Regions from separate parts of the Homo sapiens genome. Here region 1 is linked to region 2. Evidence: promoter capture Hi-C in 16 types of primary human blood cells and fetal thymus (Javierre and others, 2016). All regions are on one chromosome and are shown on one strand. The core of a region is centred on a gene start or on the middle of the fragment in contact, and the rest is flanking DNA. Distances in the headings are between cores, read along the strand shown.

What was found. Contacts are between HindIII fragments. The CHiCAGO score rates a contact against its expected background, and 5 or more counts as called.
Region 1: a fragment that was not itself captured here is called in contact with the fragment with the promoter of BARX1 in region 2 in 1 of 17 cell types (M0 macrophages); the score reaches 5.6 in M0 macrophages.

Annotation. Positions count from the first base shown.
Region 1 is chr9:93,639,525-93,642,763 of GRCh38, forward strand. The region is part of intron 3 of PHF2 (PHD finger protein 2); the gene reads left to right. Among named protein-coding and RNA genes, the nearest start is that of MIR548AU, 46 kb to the left of the region's middle. The HindIII fragment of the contact is 1,468 bases long and covers 921-2,388 here.
Region 2 is chr9:93,954,012-93,957,233 of GRCh38, forward strand. It overlaps BARX1 (BARX homeobox 1), which reads right to left and starts at 1,344. Exons shown (of 4, transcript NM_021570.4): 1 at 913-1,344. The coding sequence starts at 1,135. BARX1-DT (BARX1 divergent transcript) reads left to right here and starts at 1,823. Exons shown (of 2, transcript NR_144455.1): 1 at 1,823-2,857. LOC124902216 (a long non-coding RNA gene) reads left to right here and starts at 1,515. Exons shown (of 3, transcript XR_007061672.1): 1 at 1,515-1,629. RefSeq lists enhancers at 1,338-1,869, 1,870-2,400. The HindIII fragment of the contact is 28,188 bases long and covers 1-3,222 here.

The DNA.
Region 1 (3,239 bases), core at 405-2,904, 310 kb before region 2:
AGTATGACTTATTCCTTTCCCATCTAGGTGACCTGTATTTATTTTTCTTACCTAATTGCTCTCCCAAGAACCTCCAATATCACCTTGAATAGAAGTGGCAAGGTGAGGGTGGTCAGGGCCCCCCTCAGCACTATCAGCATGCCACACCCAAGGGAGAGCTTCAGTTTCACTAGTCAGAGCTGGATGCAAGAAGGCAGCCCCCACCTCTTGGCATTACTTGCTGCAGACGTAAACTCAGCAACAGGCAGCTGGGGCAGAATGAGAAGTGGAAGTCCTGCTCTCCCAAGAAGAAAGCTCTCTAGCTGGGAGCCGGTGGGGACGAAGCCTGTGTTTTTGGCTGCAGCACTTGGGAGTGGAGTGTCCACCTCTGAGCTCTGAATGTGAATGGAGGGAGCAGTCTTGGTCCAAATATCACAGACTGTTCTTACTGAGTTTTTGGAGATTTTCTTAAATAGATGTTTCTTCATTTGCTGTTTGGTCTTGGGACCATTTCCAGAGGCTCTGAATAATTGTTTTTTAAATAATTTTCAGCATTTCATTGTCATGCTGGAAGTTGACCTCGCTCATCTGCCTTCTTTCAAGATAGTTGCTTGGTCTTTGGTTTTTTTTGCAGTTCAAATATGATATGCCTAGGTGCAGAATTTTTGGCATTTATCCTCCTTTATGTGGTCTAAGCTTTTTGGATCTTTGGTTTCATGTCTGCCATTAATTTTAGAAAATTCTCAGCCATTATTAATTCAAATAAATATTTATTCTACTGCATTTTCTCTTCCTTTTTATATTCTCAATATGCACATTAGGCTGTTTGTAGTTCTTCTTCTACATTTCTTGGATATTCTGCGCCTCCCCTTGACCCCCACCCACATGCTTCTTTGTTCTGCTTGGATTTCAGGTTGGAAGTTTTTATTGATATAACTTCAAGCTTACTGGTTCTTTTCTTGGCCATGTCTAGTCTACTGATGAGCCCATCAAAGGCATCCTTCATTTTTGCTACTTTTATTATTGTTTTTTAATTTCTAGCCTTTCCTTTTGACTCTGTCTTAATTTCCATTTCTCTGTTTACATTACCCATATGTTCTTACATGTTGTCAGCTTTTCCCATTAGTGTAGCTAACATACTAATCCTAGTTATTTTAAATTTCCTGTCTGATAATTCGGAAATCTGTGCTATGTCTGAGTCTTCTTCGGATGCTTGCTTTGTCTCTTCAGACTACAGTTTTTCTTGCCATTTAGCAGGCTTAAAATTTCTTGTGAAAGCTGGACACGATGTATTGTGTAATAGGAATTGAGGTAATTAGGATTTAGTGTGAGGTTTTATGTTAATCTGAGTAGGACCTGGGCTGTGTTAAATTTGCTATAGCTCTAGGTGCCAGAGATGTCAGCTTCTTCTAGTTTGTTTGTTTGTTTTTCTCCTGGTTTCTTTGGGTTTTCCTAAGAATTTCATGTTAAACAGAGTCTGTGTCTGCAGCTCTCTCAGTTATAGTCAGCTATTATTATACTGATGTATGGTGGTAGGTTTTGGGGAGGGGAAGTGTTCTATAATTTCAGGATTAAATCTCAGTTTTGTAGAGTCTCTGGGCTGTGATCATTAGGAGCATTTCTCAGCCTTTTTAATTTTTCTCTCCTTATCTGAGACAGGAAGGTTAGTGGGGGCTGGAGGTCGCCAAATGCTTTCCCCATGTCCAGTAGAGTCTGATACAGGGGAGCAGACTTTTGTTATGGAGAACAACACTCTGGATGTATTTAAAAATAGATTCTATTTCCATCCTTCTGCCGGATTAAGGAGTTTTTAACTCTTAAACTGATCTACACTTAACTTTTGGCAGTTTGACAAAAGTTATCACTTAAGTGTTCCTACAGGTCACTGCCTCCAGCAGCTTCCGCTTCAGGTAAGGCGATCTCAGCTATGATTTTCTGTCTCCTCAGATTTTGGGTGGTTGGTTGTTTGCCCTATGAGCTCAATTCTCTGATGAATATAAGAAAAGTTGTTGATTTTCTGTTTGTTCAGCCTTTTTCTTGTGGGGAAGAGGGGAGTGACAACATCCAAACTCTTCACATGTTGGAGCTGAAACCAGAAGAACAATTCCACATTATTTTAGCCACCTTAAATTCATTGGGTTATCTGTTGTTTTATTTTTGAGTTGTAAGAATTCTTTACATATTCTAGATACTTGTCCTTACCAGACACTTTCTGCCATTCTGTGTTGTCTTTGTAGTTTCTTGACAGCGTCATTTGAAGCACAAAAGTTTTTAATTTTAGTGAAGTCTAACTTACCTCTTTTTTCCTTTTATTGCTTGTGCTTTTGGTATCACTGCTGATAAATCATTGCCTAATCCAAGATCTTGAAGATTTATGCCTTTGTTTTCTTCTGTGAGTTTCATAGTTTAAGCTTTTATATTTAGGTCTTTGACTCATTTTGATTGAATTTTTGTATACTATCTGAGGTAGGAAGAACTTTATTCTTTTGCATATGGATATCAACTTTTCCTAGCAACATTTATTGAAAAGACTGGCCTCTCCCCATTGAACTGTTTTGGCACTCTCCTTGAAAAGCAGTTGATTGTGGGTGTTAAGGATTTATTTCTGGGCACTTAAGTGTATTCCATTCCTCTGTATATCTTTTCTTATGACAGTACCACCGTCTTGACTGTAGGAGCTTCGTATTGAATTTTGAGGTTGGGAAGGGTCTTCCAGCATTGTTCTTTTAAAAGACTGTTTTGGTCATCTGAGTGCTTTGCATTTTTATTCAGCATTCCAAGTTTAGTTTGTCAATTTCTGCAAAGAAGTCAGCTGGGATTTTGATAGGGATTATGTGGAATCTGTAGATTAGTTTTCCATTGTTTCTTGAATCCCACACCTTTCTTCTAAGTTTGATTTCCTTCTTATAGAATTATATCTTTTAGTTATTTCAGCAAAGGCTTATGAAAATACATACTGTCTTGTCTGACAATGACTGTCTTTATTCTTACATGATTCTAATATTCTAAAATGGATCTAAAGTTCTAGAGTGAAAGCTGTTTTTCTTTAATTCTTTGAAAGGTATTTTATTGTCTTTTGACATCTCTTGCTAATGAGATATCTGTTGTTAGTCTAGTTGCTGTTTCTTTATATTGTTTGATGTACTCAGTACATGAGTGTACGATATTGCCTCTAGATGTACATTTGTTTTTGTTTATTCTGCTTAGAACCCAGTAAGCCTCTTTAATTTGGAGAGTCACATGTCAATTCTGAAAAATAC
Region 2 (3,222 bases), core at 94-2,593:
GCCTGTCACTGAGGTGCGAGTCCTAGCCTGGCTGGAGTCGGAAAGGGCAGGGCAAGGCGCAGGTAAATGTGGGGCAGAGGACCCGTAGGGAAAAGGTGGGAGATGGGAGGCAGGCCGACCCCAATGAGAGAAGCGAGGGAGGCCGACCGGCAGACGGTTGGAAAGCGAGATAGGGAAAGACAAGACGAGGGTGGAGTGCGATGGAGACAGCACCATCAGGGCAGAGCAGGCCCCGCCAAATTAGAAGAAAGGGCAGAAGCTGAAAAGGTCTGCGCAGGCCGTTCAAGCCCTGCAGAGGCCCAGCCGACCTGAAACCAGAAGGGACAGCCAGGCAGCTGCTCACAGTCAGGCCTCTGGCCCCAAGGCAAGGCCGAAGCAGGTCCGCACTGCGGCCAAGGCCGCGTTCCTCGCCCGCTGGAGCTCCCGGGGACTCCGGGCCGGCTTGGGCCCGCGTCAGCACCCAGCCCTCGGGAGCGCAGGCCTCCTCCCCAGAGGTCCGACTTCCCTGGGTTGGGCAGCCGCGGCCACTCCCGGCCATCCCTCTGCGGCGAAGCCCAGGCGCCCGTGGCCTGAGGTCGCTTCCACCCACGAGAGTCCGTAGCCTGGCAGTGCGCCTGCACTGGGGATGCTCACTCGGGGTCCCCGGGCTGGAGGCCGAAGGGAAGCAGTGAAGGAAAGAGCGAACACCCTCCCCGGGCGGCCCGCGGGCACGAGGCCTGGTTTCTGTGAGGCCTGGAGCTTGCACCCTCCGCCTCCCGCCTGGAGGGCTCCGAGAGACGGTCCCAGAACCTGCGCTCCCAGAGCAGCTTCCCGGGGCTGCTTCGATGCCGGAGGAGGCTCGGGGCGCCCCCGCGGTTCAGCTCGCTGTCTCCCGCCAAGCCCGGCCCGCGACCCCGCGGCCGCCACACGTACCCAGGTGGCTGTGGAAGGGCCGCGCCGCCAGCAGCGCCTGCACGCCGAACTTCAGCAGCTCGCCCGCCGCGGCAGCGGCGGCTGCGGGCGCGGCGCCCTTGGGCCCGGGTGGCTCCGTGAGGATCTCCTCAATCATGAAGCTGCGATAGCGGTGCGGCCGGTGGTCCGCGCAGCCCTCGGGCGGGCCGAAGCGCGCGGCGCCCGGCTCCCCCGGCCGCTGCATCGCGGCGCCCACTGCTGCGCCCGCGGTTTGGCGGCGGCGGCGGCGACGGCTTGGCTCCGGCGCGGGGCCCGCGCGGGGCTCTAGGCCGGCCCGCAGCTCGGGGCGGCGCGCGGGCGCCGGCTCATGCCCCCTCCCCCGCCGGCCGGCCGGGCGGAGGCGCAGGGCGCGGGCGGGGCGCGCGGGGCTCGGCCGGTCGAACCCGGGACTGCGCCCCCTCCCCACGCCGCCGCGCCTCTTGCCCGGCCAGCCCCGCGTCACCGCCCCGCCCCGCCCCGCCCCGCGCCGCCGCCCCCAACCCCTAGGCTGAGCCGGAGGGAGGGACCCAGAAGGGAGGGAGGCGGAAGGGAGGCCAAAAAGGAGGGGGCCACGTGAAAGAGGCCGGCCGACCGAGACCGAGGGAGACTGAGCGGAGCGCACGCCCTGGAAGGAGAGAGCCGGAGAGTTCGGGAGGCAAGACCCCCAGAGACGAGAGTCGGAGGGATCAAACGACACAGGTGAGAGAAGGGGCAGAGGCAGACGGCGTGGGCCAAACAAGATTCCAGACAGTGATGTGAGGGCACCAGAGACGCCACCGAGATGTGCGCAGAGAGACCAAAAGAGGCGTGAGAGCCAGCGGGCTGTGACGTGACGGAGGGCACAGAGGCAGGCGGGGCAGAGGAAGGGGGCGGTAAAGAAATGGGAACAGCTAGAAAACCGGCGGCTTGATCGGCTTTTAGGTAGCCCCGGAAAGGTCGGGAGGAGGAGGGGCAAAGGCCGCGCTCCTCAGCTGGGAAGGAGGTGGTCTCAAGCAGCCTCCAGTCCCGGGCTCAACACCGCCAACCCGGCAAGGGTGAGGCAGCGTTCAGGGATGCAAGGGGCAGAGCGGTAGCGGCACCTGTGCACCCCTCCCACCTCTGCCTCAGTTTACCATGTACGGCCTCATTTCTCTCCGGGCTGCCCTGAGAGAAAAATGTTCTCCAGCCGAGATTTGCTTGAATTGGAAATTCAAGTGATCCATGGACACATCCTCCTTGACAGCCCCCAGAAGACTGTAGGCTGGTTACATCCCCCTAGTTAGAAAAGGAAAAGGATTCGAGGAGAAGGGAAGGATGCAGCTTTGCCTTTTCCCAGCTTTGGGGCATCAAGAAACTGTTACTGGGCGGAGTTGGGGCCAGGGGGCCAGTGGGTGCTCTGAGAGTGTAAAGACCAAACTCTGGTGGGACCTGGCTCCATTGCGGAGCCTCAAAAGCTCCAACATGGTGGAGGAAGTTGGCAGTACCTTCTCTAGATCTTTCTTTCCATCCTTAGAAGAGTATAAGCCCAAGCCGTGGAGTGAACAACCCCAAAGCTACCCTACGCTGAACTCCTCTCTTTGGTCCTGCCACTACTGGTGAAACCACTGACCCTTTCTGGGCCTGTTTCCTTACCTGTCCTGAGGAGATGCTGACCTTTGGCTCCAGAGAGACTGTGAGAACTCAGTGAGGGGGTCCTGCACTCCGAGGGTCCTGCACCCTGGGAGCCCTTAGGTCTGTTTGGAGAGAAAACAGTTCCTCCAGGCAAGAGGGGAGAAGTGTCCCCAGGAGGTTGGGGGAGGAGCATCTGCCCTCCTCCTTCTCAGGAATCACAGGGCCTACCTCCTAGCCCCATCCACCATTGCCAGTCAGCGCCTGATGCACTGGGGGTGTCCTGGGCCACCCGGACTTCCTCTGTGAGCTCCATGTGGGGCCTCAGTCTTTACCTCAGGTAACTAGGGCTTACCACACCTACAGCCATGCCCCCCACCCAAGTTGAAGTCCTTTCTCCAGCTCCAGCTGCTGGTGGGGAGGCCTTCAGGCTGGCCCTCAGTCCCTGGCACCTGCCCCAGACTCGGGAGTGGGGGTGGGGGGCAGGTGGGGACTAGGAAGTGGCCCAGATCCTTTGTCTGTAGGGCCTGGAGTGAGGACAAAGACTACCTTACTCTGGTAAGATCCCAGTCCCAAGAGCCCACTGTCTCTCCTTCCCAGTTGTTGCATGACTTTCTGAACTCAGAGTTACCATTGGGACTGAAAGAAGGTGGCCTCAATGGCCGCCAGTTGCTTCGGACTCCCTCGGAGAGTGGTGCTGTGAGC